Regions from separate parts of the Homo sapiens genome. Here regions 1, 3 and 4 are each linked to region 2. The links are contacts of gene promoters, found by promoter capture Hi-C in human tissues and cell types (Jung and others, 2019). All regions are on one chromosome and are shown on one strand. The core of a region is centred on a gene start or on the middle of the fragment in contact, and the rest is flanking DNA. Distances in the headings are between cores, read along the strand shown.

Region 1 (3,409 bases), core at 280-2,779, 1.8 Mb after region 2:
CAGCCTGGCCAACATGGTGAAACCCCGTCTCTACTAAAAATACAAAAATTAGTCGGGCATGGTGGCGGGGACCTGTAATCCCAGCTACTCGGAAGGCTGAGGCAGGAGAATCGCTTGAACACGGGAGGCGGAGGTTGCGGTGAGCTGAGATAGAGGCCCTGCACTCCAGCCAGGGTAACAAGAGCGAGACTCCGTCTCAAAAAAAAAAAAAAAAAAAAAAGAACAACAAAAAAAAGAACTGGATGCGTCTGATCTGACGCACGCCTGTTTGTTTACGACTGCGGGGTGTGCCTTTGTCTGAGTAGAGATAGTGTGTGGCTTTTGCGGGCTTAACGTGTGGCTCAGGAGGCAGTGGGAGTCTGCATCATGTATCCCGATTGCGTCTTACTCGAGTTTTGTTTTGAGTTAGAGGCGACAGGTGGTGCAGCGTTAGACACTGGGAAGCTCTGTGGCTTTTGTATTCCTGAGCGCGAAGGTTAATGACGGATCCGTGGGGTTGAGCTTGTCGGTACAGACGCCAGACAGCCCGATTTACGGGAACAGCCGATTAGAGGATTCGGGAGAGCGGTCGGTGAACTTCTGGATGTCTTTCGGGAGGGGAAGGCTCTATGGTCGCGTGCAGAGCGCCCGTTCCACGTCAGGTACCCGACCATAGAGCAAGGCGGCCGCGGACTACCCAAGGGAAGGGGAGGCCGTGTCCTTTACAACTTGCCTCCCGTTGTTAGTCTAGTTTCTATAGCCAAACCTTCGGGACTCTCTCAACTCAAAATTTTGCTTTTCCTAAAGGCAACTGGGTTCCTTCCAGATTACGAACTGTGTATCCACTTAATCTCTATTTCGTATACCTCCTCCTACAGCGAAATTTGTGAGGCAGTCCTCTGAAGCACGGCCAATCTGGTGAACTTTTCCTAAAATGAGCCATCGCTACCAGCTTTAGTGAGCTAAGACAATAACTGCGATTGGTGGGCAGATTGTTTTGAAACCGCCCTAACGGCAAGGGGCGGGCTCCTGGTGAATTCATCTCTTTCCGGTTTCTTAAAGGCAACAGGAAGGAGGGGTTTCTGCCGACCCTCCATTTGATTGGTTCTAGTGGTTTTACCCGCTCGGACTCCTCAAGGGGCGGGAGATGTACACCAATCGGAATGTGTGTTACAGAGACACTTAGTTTGATGAAAGGACTGCGCAGGAAAGGCCGTGGGACACTCATTCTGAGATCTTACCGTTGATTGGACCAAATTGTTACTCCCTTATTTTCATTGGACCTTACGGCAGCCGGCGCGCGAGAGTTACCCAATCAGCAAGCGCTCCGCCTCCTGCCTTTTCCCGCCCTCCGCTCCGGCCTCGGCTTCGACGTAGGCCAACGCTTCCTCCCCAGTAGCTCCTAGGCCTTCTCGTGGCCGTTGTTTTGAAAACGGCGCTCTGATTGGCTAGGTTTCCGGGCCCGCGCCCGTTGCCCCACGCACTGACCAATTGGCACTCATGTAACATCGGACGAGGCACGAGTGAGGGGGGAGGCGGTGGCGGCGGCCATTTTGAGCCGCTGCCGCCATTGGAGTGGGCCCCCCCCCTTTCCCCCTTCGCCTCCTGACAGGAAAGGTTTAAGGGGGACAGAGCCCTGGGAGGCCGGGCCGGGCTCGGGGGCCACCCCGGGGGCCCGGGCCATGGATGTGCGCCGTCTGAAGGTGAACGAACTTCGCGAGGAGCTGCAGCGCCGCGGCCTGGACACTCGAGGCCTCAAGGCCGAGCTTGCTGAGCGGCTGCAGGCGGCGTTGGAGGCCGAGGAGCCTGACGACGAGCGGGAGCTCGACGCCGACGACGAACCGGGGCGACCCGGGCACATCAACGAGGAGGTCGAGACCGAGGGGGGCTCCGAGCTGGAGGGGACCGCGCAGCCACCGCCGCCCGGGCTGCAGCCGCACGCGGAGCCCGGCGGCTACTCGGGGCCGGACGGACATTGTGAGAGTGCGCGGGGCGGGGGCCGGGGAGCCCGGAGCCTGGGCCGAGGAAAGGGCTGTGGGACGCGGGAGTCCAGCGCCTGAGGTCGGGGAGACGACCTGAGGATCGGGGGATCCCGCTACCCGCCGCCGAAAAGGATCTGGGGACCAGGGCCCCAGCACGACCGGAGGGTGGATCCTGACACTCAGTGCAGGGGGGACACTGGGGGAGGGGCCTCTGGGTTTCGGAGGTGAGGGACGGGGGTGGCGGGGAGGATTCCGTACCGTAGGGATCGGAGACCGGAAACTGCTTTCTGGAGCCGAAGAGAGTCGGAAGAACAAGAGGTTTTCCGTTTGGGTTGGGGAGGGTCTCGAAAATGGGGATCCTAGGGTACGGAGCTCCGTGGGCTTGGCGGTCGTGCTAGCCCAGCGTGTGGGCTGGGGGGTGGGGAGCCGTGTTTCCAGGGTGGGGAAGGAATGTCCAGGTGTGCGGGGCTGCGAGAGTTCTGAGGAAGGAGGATCCTGGAATATGCCGCTGGATGCGATCCTGGGCGTTCTCCTATTTGGGTACGGGGGTGGGTGGGAGAGGTGGAGGCGCTGGTGTCTGTGGCTGGGGAGGGTCCTAATGGACTCAGTGCTTTGGAGTTTGGCTAGTGAGCATTTAGGGGCTGCGGGAGATTGAACTAGGGGGCACCCCCATCTCTCTTCCGGGGCTGGAAGGCCACCCTTGAAGCAGGCACAGCCTGGACATTAGGTGCTGGGAGATCTGGGGACTTTCTGGTTGGCTTCTAGAAGAGGTATAGGGAGCCCTGGTGTCCAGAGGCTGGCGGGGGAGAGGATGCTTTCCTGGACAAAGGATCTGGGGGTCTAGAGCTAAGAAAACTGAGGGCAAATAACTCTTGAGGCTGCTGCTGACTGGTCTGGAGCTAACTGTGGGGTTTTTGGAGAACAGAGGGTAGCTGGGGGTGGGATGGGGGCAGATGAGTTGGTAACATTCCAAGTGGATGAAATATGTGGCGGGAGACAGAGGATCCTGTGTCCAGCACAGGAGTACGTATCTGGCTTAGCGAATATGGGGAGGGGGGAGGCCGTAGGGAGCAAAGAGAAAGAAACCTGTTGACTTCACTGGAGGCCTCAGAGTGGAGTGTGGGGAATGTTTCTGGACCTGAGCGTCTCCAGGAGAAATCTCGACGGTTCCCAGAAGCAGTTATTTGTGTACCCAGGGAGTGGGGGCCCTCGGGGAGCAGCACGGAACTCTTCATCAGCCAGGAGCTGTGACTCTGGGAATGGGTTCGGGTAGACCTGCGGTTGTCTGAGGAGAGGAAAACCTGATATGGGACGGCGTGAATCTTCAGTTAGAAAAAAAGCAGCTTTCGGGCCGAGTGCAGTGGCTCACGCCTGTTATTCCAGCACTTTGGGAGGCCGAGGCGGGCGGATCACGAGGTCAGGAGTTCAAGACCAGTCTGGCCAGCATA
Region 2 (2,997 bases), core at 166-2,665:
CAGAATTTTTATTAAATTCTAGGCCAGGCATGGTGATCACACCTGTAATCCCAGTCCAGGCAGAAGGATCACATGAGACCAAGGACCAGCCTGGGCAATAAAGTGAGACCCCACGTCTACAGAAAAATATTTCTCAAATGAGCCAGGCGTGGTGATGTGCCTGTAGTCTTGGCAACCGAAAGGCTGAGGTGGGAGGATCTCCAACTCAGGAGTTTAAGGCTGCAGTTCATTAGGATTGTGCTATTGCACTCCAGGGTAGGTGACAGCAAGATACTGTTTTTAAAAAAGAACCTTATAACTCAAAAAAAATTTTTTTAACTGACCCTGCAATGTAGATATTCTTTCTTTTAAAAGTAGTAGAGTTCAGAAGGGGCAGAAATCAGACTCTGGTTTCTTTCCATTCTGAGCCAAAGAAATTGAGAGTCCCAAAAAGGGAACAGAGGAACCCCTTTTACAAGCAAGCATTTAAACAGACCCAAATTCGGCCGCACACGGTGGCTGACGCCTGCAATCCCAGCACTTCGGGAGGCCGAGGCTGGTGGATCACCTGAGGTAATGAGTTCGAGACCACTCTGGCCAATATGGCGAAACCCCGTCTCTACTAAAAATACAAAAATTAGCCGGGCGTGGTGGTGCATGCCTGTAATCTCAGCTACTCAAGAGGCTGAGGCAGGAGAATCGCTTTAACCCGGGAGGCGAAGGTTGCAGTGATCCGAGATCGCGCCACTACACTCCAGCCTGGGCGACACAGCGAGACTCCCTCTCAAAACAAATAAATAAAATAAAAAATAGTCGGTGTCCCTTCACCCTTTGGGTCCCCCCGCCCCAGTGAGGTGAGCTTCCTAACATCCCAGTTCTCAAAGCAAACCCTTAATCTTCAACAACCCCATCTCAGCTTTTACATCTTCTGAACCCCAAGCCCAGCTCTATTGCCAAATACCCCACTGTTCTACACCCAACACAACTTCTAAACATCCCGTTGCTGATGCCAGCCCCCCCAGCTTTCAAGAGCTACAACATCTCTGTCTCCAAGAGTCCTCCATCCACTCAACGCCGGTGCCGGATCCCAGCACCTTGTACTGTAGCGTGCGCGGCTCAATCATCTCCAGGGGCCGCCCGTTCACCTTGATGAGACCATTGCCGCGTTTGCAGTGCGCCACAGCTGTCGCTGTCTTCTGTAAGATACAAGAGAAACAGGGGCCCCGTGAGCTCCGGCTCCAGCTCCCATGTTACCCCCTAGATTCCTGCCCACCGACCTCTCCCAGACCCTGGCCTTCTCCTTCCCCTCCCCTTCCCATCCGGCGTCTGGCTCACCTTGCGTCCGAAGACCTGCACAGACTGCAGCGGGCCCTTGGACGGCATGGCTCCGAGCGTGGACTAGACAACCTCACCGCGCGGCGCCGCAACCGGAAAAGGAAAGCTAGGGGCCACCCTGGCCGCTTTTCAGGGTCTGCGCAGGCGCCTTGAGCACTGCGTCGCGACGGGAGAGAGCTTTACGGCTTCTGTTGCGGCTAACGGGCGGGGCGTCTGGTCAGCGGCGGGAAGGCCCTTAGGCGCTCAGAGCGGGCGGGCCCTGTGAGGCGGAAGTGGCGGGCTCTGTGGGCGGAAGGGGCGGGGCCTGGGAGTGTCGTGTGCGGACTGAAGGGAAGGCTGCGGGAGTGTGCTTCGCGTCCTCTGTAGTCGACTACCGCAGCTCTTCTTTGCATTCTGGCTCTTTAATAATCTCCCTTCGCCCTTTCTTTAAATCAGTTCCCACCCTCCCAACACCTGTAATCTTTCTCCCCTCTGGACTCCCTCCTCCCCGAATCCCCCGCATCAGAATCTTCCTTTGGAATCTACTGCAAGAAATCTGGCTGGATTCTCAGATTAAGGACTTCCAGAATCCTATCCTCCCTAGAATCCCCCTCCTTGGGGATCCTCTCCCAGAATCCTTTTCCCCTCAGAGCCCCTTCCCCTCAGAATCTCCCTTTCACCAGAATGTCCTTCCTTTCAGTTTCCTCTTCCCAGAATGTTTCCCATCCTTCTCTCAGATGGCCAACCCCAAATGTCCCTCTTAAGAGTGCTCAACTTAGACCCCCCTTTTCCCTGAATCTCCCTCCATTCGGTCCTCGTCCCCTCAGTCACCCTTCCCAGAATCTTTCTCTTGTCAGGACCCAGTACCCCTGGAATCTCCCTCCTCCAGAATCTCCCTTTCCCGGCAAATCCCCCTTTCCCGGCAAATCCCCCTTTCCCAGAACACCCCGCCCCGCAAATCCACAAAAACTTTTCTCTCAGAGACCCGTCCCTCAAAATCTACCTTTCTCCTGAGTTTATTTCCCTTCCGAGACTCCTCTTCCCAGCAACTGCCTTCCCTGGAGTTTTCCCTCCGTTAGAATCCCCCTCTCCTAAGAGACCCTCCCCCAAGAATTAACCTCTTCCCCGTCCCCACCCTAGAATCTCTCTCTTTTTTTTGAGACGGAGTTTCGCTCGTTGCCCTGGCTAGAGTGCAGTGGTGCGATCTCGTCTCACTGCAACCTCCGCCTCCCGGGTTCAAGAGATTCTCCTGCCTTAGGCTCCCGAGTAGCTGGAATTACAGGCGTCTACCACCACGCCCTGGTCGTTTTTTGTATTTTTAGTAGAAATGGGGTTTCACCACGTTGGCCAGGCTGGTCTCGAACTCCTGACCTCAGGTGATGTGATCCGCCTCAGCCTCCCAGAGTCCTGGGATTACAGGCGTGAGCCACCACGCCCGGCCGAATCTCTCTGTTTTTTGTTTTTTTTTTTTCTTTTTTTTGAGACAGAGTCCTGCTCTGTCGCCCAGGCTGGAGTGCAGTGGCATGATCTCTGCTCACTGCAACCTCTGCCTCCCCGGTTAAAGCGATTCTCCTGCCTCAGCCTCTTGAGTAGCTGAGATTACAGGCATGCACCACCACGCCCGGCTAATTTTTGTATTTGTAGTAGAGACGGGGTTTCACCATATTGGCCAGACTGGTCTCGAACTCCTGACATCAAATGATC
Region 3 (3,407 bases), core at 907-3,406, 1.0 Mb after region 2:
GTGATTTTTAATCATCGGAATCTCAGTTTACTGATGTATAAAATGAAGGCTGTCTGAATCCTACAAGTTTAAGAAGGTGAGTACATATACGATTAAGAAAATAAGATCTGGCGTTACGTACAGCTAGATTTAAATCTCACTTACTTGCCTGTTGTGGCCTCAAACAGTGAATTTACATCCATGAGAATCAATTTCCTCATCTGCCAAGTACGGATCCTAACTCAAGTTCCTCTAAGCCTTAAAACTGTTCTTCCACAATATTAATTTCTTCAAACATGGAGCACGAAAGACAAGTGTGGAGCACAGAGACCTGGATTGGAAGTAGGGAACCCCAAATCTGAATTCTGTATTGGAAACTGCTCAGCTGCGTGATCATGGGAAGTGATCTGAATGAGTCAATTCTCAGGGCCTCAGTTTCCTCATCTGTAAAATAGGGACTGTAAAAAAATACTTCTCACCACCTCTGTCAAGGAGATGCCACGTATCTATAGGGCCCACCACACCGGAAGTGCTTAATGAACAAGAGTTGTGTTTGTTTTTTGTTAGAGACAGGGTCTCGCTCTGTCGCCCAGGGCTGAGTGCAGCAGCGCTATCACAGCTCACTGCAGTCTCGAAGTCCTGGGCTCAAGCGATCCTCCCGCCTCAGCTTCCTGAGTAGCTGGGATTACCACCACACCCGGCCTCGATCAAGAGTTAATTGCCAGTTATTCGCTCAACAGATTTACTGAGTGCCTACTATATTCGAAATCTCCTGGAGCCCTGTTGGGGAACCTATGTTGAGATTCTTCTTCAACAGTCGGGATATTTCTATGTCCTCTTCCTTAACCGACTGGGAGCGCTCCCAAGAGTAGGAAAGGGGCCTGTCTCATTCCCTCTGCCCACGCTTTCAGATTCCCCCAAAGCGCGCCCCATAGGAAAACTTGCTAGAACTCAGCTCAGACCAAGCCCCGCCCCCTCGGAGGTCCCACTCAATCAGACCGCGACACTGTAAGGCCCCGCCCCCCCATGGGTCCTTACAGAGCATCCAGGAACGCCCCAATTTGGCCCAGGGGCTTCTGGGAAACGGGGGCCAACAGCCGCCAGGTACACGAATTGACGTCGAGCACGCACTACAATCCCCAGAGGGCTCCGCCCGTCCAGGGGACGAGCCACCCCCCTCACCCCGCTCTCCCTCAGGGCATGCGCACAGGGGCACAGGCGGGTGGGGGAAGGGAACCTGGACGTCCAGCTGCCGGCGCCTGCCGAGCCCCGCCCTCCATTGCCTCCGGGGCCGCGAGTCTGAGCTCCAGGCCCGGAACACCCCTCCCCCACCCCAGACTCCGGCTCTAAATTTGCTTTCTCCCGGTCCCTCTGTTCCTTGAAAGTCCGCGATTCTCCTTCCAAACTGCCCTTGGATCCAGAGACCCAGATCCGAACACATCGCTCAAAGACGACAATGCTCCGATCTAGTTCGGGAGACTACGTATCCTAATTCTGATACTTCCTCCCACTTCTCCTAGTCTCCTGACTTTCAAACGCCCCTGGACTTCACCTCCAAACTCGCTGTCCGGCTCCAAGACCCGAACATTGAACTCTTCCCGGCAACCTCCTTCCCCCGCCAGTGCGTCTTGGAGTCCCAAGAATCCTTGACCCTAGTTCTCTCGCTTCTCCAAATACTCAGAATCTCAGCTCCGTACCTCTCACACCTTTTCCAGAACACGATAAAGCCCCGAATTCAACCCGTCCGGAAGACCCAAGTGGAATCGAATCTCCAGGTTCCCTGTCTCAAAAGTTCCTCCCCTCTGTTCTCTCGCTTCTCCAAAAGCCCAACGTCCCAGCTTCAAACTCCCTCCACTTGAAAATACTGCCCCAACAACCTCGCCTCCCCTCCTGGGTCTTGAACTCAGTCTCAGGTCCCCAGACCCTCCCTATCATCACCCTGAATCTGAGGCCCCCTCCCCCGGTCCCACCCAGACCCCGCCTCCGCAAGTCCCCGGGGCGCGCTTCTCTCTCCCCCAGCCTAAGGTAAATTCCCAAGCCAGGCGACCACTCCTCACCGCAGCTGCCAGGTTCGCCACGACCACCTCCTGGAACGCCCACAGCGTTGCGACCCGCCAGTGCCAGGACCCACCAGTGACCGGTTGGAGCCTCGCTCACCTCGGCGGGGCCTCTCCGTCTGGCCTCTGGCCCACCAGCCCCGCCCCGGAGCCGAGCCGCGAGCCGCGATTGGCTGGAGTCCCGCCCGCCGCGGGGCGTCGATTGGCTGGGCGGAGCCATCCGCCCGTGCCCCGAGACGCCGGATCCGCCCACCCCTCCCTAGCGCCCCGGGCCATTTAAAGAAGTGCAACTGGCAGGGGGCGGGGCAGCGACTCCGGGGTGGAGGGCGGCCGGTCCAACAGAACCGCTTCCTTCCACTCAGCTACAGTCCTCGCTCCAAGATCGTCACCATTGCTCCCTGCGGTTCCTTTATGGTAGGCCTGGACTCCACCGTGGAGCCAGAGGGGCTGGCATGCCCCTCCCCAAGTCGCTGTGCAGGCGGGCGGGGCCGAGCAACCGGAGGAGGCCGCGCCCCCGGGGTTCCGAGGGAGGACGCTGGGGCGCGGGGGATGACGTAGCGGAAGACCAGCCAATAGAGTGGCGCGGCCCGCGTTGCCTAGGCGATCGTAGCCTCGCCCCCTTGCTGCCCCTCCCGCCCCCTATACGTTACCGCGCGGCCCCTTCTTAATCCTCAGGTTTTCTCAGCACGTCCTCTGGTGGTCCCACCTGGGTCTTCTGACACCCTCTTTCCTTCCCCGCTCCATCAAGATGACTCCTCTGCTACTGTTCATGGCTTCCTACCCACCCCGAATACAAACTTCAAACTCCTTCCTTTTGCCACAAAGCCCCTCACGACCTTGCTTGATGCGTTCTCCTGGTTCTCTCCGATCCTGCCCCATTGAGTCACTTCCAGTTTTTCTAAAATGGCTTCAAGCTCCCATTCACCCCATCAGGAAAACGAAAGGATTTTCTCTGTTTGTTTTCTTCCCTGCTTTACCCCAGTGTCTACAACAATGCCAGGTACATAATAAGTTCGCAAACATGACAATAAAAGGCCTCTGGATCTTTATTATTAATATTATTTTTTGCCGGGCGCAGTGGCGCACGCCTGTAATCCCAGCACTTTGGGAGGCGGAGGCGGGCAGATCACTTGAGGTCAGGAGTTTGAGACCAGCCTGGCCAACAATGGTGAAACCCCGTCTCTACTAAAAATACAAAAATTAGCTGGGCGTGGTGGCGCACGCTTGTAATCTCAGCCACTTGGGAGGCTGAGGCAGGAGAATCGCTTGAACCTGGGAGGTTGAGGTTGCAGTGAAGGCGAGATCGTGCCACTGCACTCCAGCCTGGGTGACAGAGAGATGGGGGAGGGGGGAGGGGGGTTTTCTTGTGTT
Region 4 (3,482 bases), core at 842-3,341, 1.1 Mb before region 2:
CTGCCCGCCTCAGCCTCCCGAAGTGCTGGGATTACAGGCATGAGCCACCTGGCCTGGCCATATCAACGTGGTATTTTGTTTATTTGTGTCTTTTTCTTTTTTTTTTTGAGATGGAGTTTTGCTCGTTGCCTAGGCTGGAGTGCAATGGTGCGATCTTGGCTCACTGCAACCTCCACCTCCCAAGTTCAAGTGATTCTCCTGCCTCAGCCTCCCGAGTGAGTAACTGGGATTGCAGGCACCCGCCACCATACCTGGATAGATAATTTTTTGTATAGTAGAGACGGAGTTTCACCATGTTGGCTAGGCTGGTCTCAAACTCCTGACCTCAGGTGATCCATCCACTTCAGCCTCCCAAAGTGCTGAGATTACAGACTTGAGCCACCACACCCGGCCATCATTTTTGTTTAAAACATTTTTTACCACCACAACTTCTTTCACATATTAATTTACTCATTAATTCAACACATATATAATTTCTTTCTTTTTCTTTTTTTCTTTTTTCTTTTTTTTTTTTTGAGCACAGTCTCGCTCTGTCACCCAGGCAGGAGTGCAATGGCGATCTCAGTTCACTGCAACCTCTGCCTCCCGGGTTCAAGTGCTTCTCCTGCCTCAGCCTCCCAAGTAGCTGTACTACAGATGTGCACCACCACGCCCGGCAAATTTTTGGTATTTTTACATTTATTTATTTATTTTCTCTGAGACAGAGTCTCACTCTGTCACCCAGGCTGGAGTGCAGCGGCACAATCTCAGCTCACTACAAGCTGACCTCCTGGGTTTAAGCGATTCTCCTGCCTCGGGCTCCTGAGTATCTGGGATTACAGGTGTGTGCCACCACGCACAGCTGGTTTTTTTGTTTTTTTTTTTTGGTATTTGCAGTACAGATGGGGTTTCGCCATGTTGGCCAGGTTGGTCTCGAACTCCTGACCTCAAGTGATCTATCTGCCTCGGCTTCCCAAAGTGCTGGGATTACAGGCATGAGCCACCATGCCTGGCCAACAAATATTTATTGACTGTCTACTAATATTTGCCAAGCACTGAGATACTGGGAATTCAGTAGTGAAGGAAATCGTCCTGCCTTCATGGAGATGACATTCTAAATGGTGGAGACGGAGAGTGAAAGTCGGGTTTGAGAAAAACGTGCTGCCCAGGCGCAGTGGCTCACACCTCTAATCCCAACACTTTGCGAGGTCAAGGCAGGAATATCGCTTGAGCTCAGGAGTTCGAGACCAGCCTGGGCAGTATAATGAGACTCTGTCTCTATAAAAAATTTAATTTTTTTTAAAAAGAGAGAAAAAGCGATGTTGAATGTGCAGATGTAATATCAATCAGTGGAGGAAGAAGTTGGTATAAGAAGTTGTGAATACTGGCCAGGCAAGGTGGCTCATGCCTGTAATCCCAGCATTTCGGGAGGCCAGGGCCCAGGGAATCGCCTGAGTTCAGGAGTTGGAGACCAGCCTGACCAACATCTACTAAAAATACTAAAATTACGTCTCTACTAAAAATACGAAAATTAGCCAGGCGTGGTGGCACATGCTTGTAATCCCAGCTACTTGGGAAGCTGGGGCAGAAGAATCACTTGTACCCAGGAGGCGGAGGATGCAGTGAGCCAAGATTGCTCCATTGCACTCCAGCCTGGACAACAAGAGCTAAACTCCGTCTCAAAAAAAAAAAATTGTGAATCCTCCACTTACACATGACATTGAAAGCCATAGAGCTGGATGAGTTTTGTAACTAGTTAGTTCATATAAGCTTGGGAAAAAAATGTGGAAGGATGCATTGAAAAAGACTGGAGAGGGAGCCCCAGGTACACATCCTAGCTGTTAGTCCTTTGGAAGGTTACCCAGCCTCTCAGTCTGTCTATAAAATGAGAATAACACAGCTCTCCAAATGGCACGACACCCGCTACCTTTTGGCTTGGAGACGCTGCCCCGAAGGCGGAACCTCCAGGACAGCTACGTAGCGTCCCGAGCACTCAGACTGAAGCCAGGGCAGCCATGTTCATTATTGGAACCGTGAGGTGGGTAGGGGGGGTGGTGTTGAGACAGCTGTCATTTTCAGTTAGGGCAAAAGCCAACTTCCGGTCACCATCTTGAGTGACGACAGAGGCGGAGCTCCAACTGACATGTTCATTAAGGGCAGGGCTCCGAGGGCGCCACCTCGAGAGCGACGGCGGGCTACCCGGGGCGGGCTGAGGCAGGTTGTAGCCCCGCCCCGGGCCTTGGGCTCCACCTCTCGGCCCCACTTCCGCCGGGCAAGCGTTTGTAGGCGGCGCTGCCGTAAATCAGGCGGTCTGCTTGCCGCATCACGCAAGATGGCGGCCGCGGCGGTGAACGGGGCGGCAGGCTTCTCGAGCTCCGGGCCCGCGGCAACCTCGGGCGCTGTTCTGCAGGCCGCGACCGGCATGTACGAGCAACTCAAGGGCGAGTGGAACCGTAAAAGCCCCAATCTTAGCAAGTGCGGGGAAGAGCTGGGTCGACTCAAGGTAAAGTCGGCAGGCCCAGGAAACCGAGTGTTGCGGGCGTGGGAGGCGCTACGAGGTGTCTGGACCCAACCAAGTCCCGGGCCGCGGAAGCCACCTCGGTGCCAGCGAGACTGAGGCGGGCTGGGGGATCCGATGGGGTGAAAGATTTGGAACAGCCAAAGTGGGGGCTCGGAGGGCGTCAAGAAGCGAGAGAGGGACAGGGAGCGTTGATGGTCACGCCTGTAATCGCAGCGCTTTGGGAGGCCGAGGCGGGGGAGCGTCGCTTGAGCCCAGGAGTTCAAGATCAGCCTGAGCAACATAGCGAGACTCTGTCTCTACATTTTTTTTTTAAGTGAGAGATGACTGGAATGGACCCACGCGGGGGTGGTGGGGGAATGATTGGAAGACTTATGGCAGAACTGAGTGAGGGGTTAGATTTTTGGTGCGTGGAGGCTTAACTGGTCGGAGTGGCAGGATTGGGATTCGGGCTTTTCCTGATGGTGGATTCCAGGCAAGACCAAGTGGGAAGTGAGGACTGCCCGGAGTGATAAAAGAATGAGGCTGAAAAGGTGGGCTGTGTAGAGGGTGTGTGGTTAAGACCAGGCTGGGTTAGGATCTGAGAGATCTGGGGCTTAGGCTCGCATCTGTTGGGAGAGGGGGCAGCCTAGTTGTGAAGGCAGGACTGAACCTAGAAGAAATATTCTTACAAGTAGAGAACAAGAATACGGGGCCCAGAGTGCTTCAGACCAAACATCTGTTGGGAGGGAGTGTAAATCCAGTGGCTTGGAACAAGCTGCTGAGCCTGCTAAGGAAAGATGTATGGGCTGAACTGTGGGGGGAGATTTGGACCTCCCCCTCCCAGATATAGATTTTGGGGATAGCCCAGCTACCCCTTCCCCAATAGATTGTGGGGAAGATGGGCCAAGAATGGAATGTACTCCTGTCCCCACCGCCGCGTGATTCCACTGGGTCAGGCACTGAGTGTCCCTCCTTGTTTCCCCAGTGGGGCTATTAATAATTG

The links. The method cuts DNA at HindIII sites, captures the fragments that hold promoters and counts their contacts. A contact is called where the count stands out against the background at its distance.
Region 1: the fragment with the promoter of HNRNPUL1 here is called in contact with the fragment with the promoter of RPS16 in region 2 in 1 of the 25 tissues and cell types used here (small bowel).
Region 3: the fragment with the promoter of SERTAD3 here is called in contact with the fragment with the promoter of RPS16 in region 2 in 1 of the 25 tissues and cell types used here (thymus).
Region 4: the fragment with the promoter of PSMD8 here is called in contact with the fragment with the promoter of RPS16 in region 2 in 2 of the 25 tissues and cell types used here (heart right ventricle and liver).

The regions. Positions count from the first base shown.
Region 1 is chr19:41,262,843-41,266,251 of GRCh38, forward strand. It overlaps HNRNPUL1 (heterogeneous nuclear ribonucleoprotein U like 1), which reads left to right and starts at 1,530. Exons shown (of 15, transcript NM_007040.6): 1 at 1,530-1,956. The coding sequence starts at 1,662. RefSeq lists enhancers at 1-501, 502-1,041, 1,042-1,580 and silencers at 1,586-1,825, 1,916-1,985, 2,006-2,055. The HindIII fragment of the contact is 10,725 bases long and covers 1-3,409 here.
Region 2 is chr19:39,434,534-39,437,530 of GRCh38, forward strand. It overlaps RPS16 (ribosomal protein S16), which reads right to left and starts at 1,416. Exons shown (of 5, transcript NM_001020.6): 1 at 1,315-1,416; 2 at 1,074-1,175. The coding sequence starts at 1,362. RefSeq lists enhancers at 610-1,189, 2,853-2,997 and a silencer at 1,570-1,669. The HindIII fragment of the contact is 40,426 bases long and covers 1-2,997 here.
Region 3 is chr19:40,442,179-40,445,585 of GRCh38, forward strand. It overlaps SERTAD3 (SERTA domain containing 3), which reads right to left and starts at 2,157. Exons shown (of 2, transcript NM_203344.3): 1 at 2,037-2,157. It overlaps SERTAD3-AS1 (SERTAD3 antisense RNA 1), which reads left to right and starts at 2,339. Exons shown (of 2, transcript NR_187496.1): 1 at 2,339-2,450; 2 at 2,712-3,085. RefSeq lists silencers at 1,004-1,383, 1,849-1,908, 2,089-2,408, 2,469-2,688. The HindIII fragment of the contact is 14,341 bases long and covers 1-3,407 here.
Region 4 is chr19:38,372,480-38,375,961 of GRCh38, forward strand. PSMD8 (proteasome 26S subunit, non-ATPase 8) reads left to right here and starts at 2,092. Exons shown (of 7, transcript NM_002812.5): 1 at 2,092-2,482. The coding sequence starts at 2,123. RefSeq lists enhancers at 2,001-2,631, 2,262-2,401. The HindIII fragment of the contact is 16,024 bases long and covers 1-3,482 here.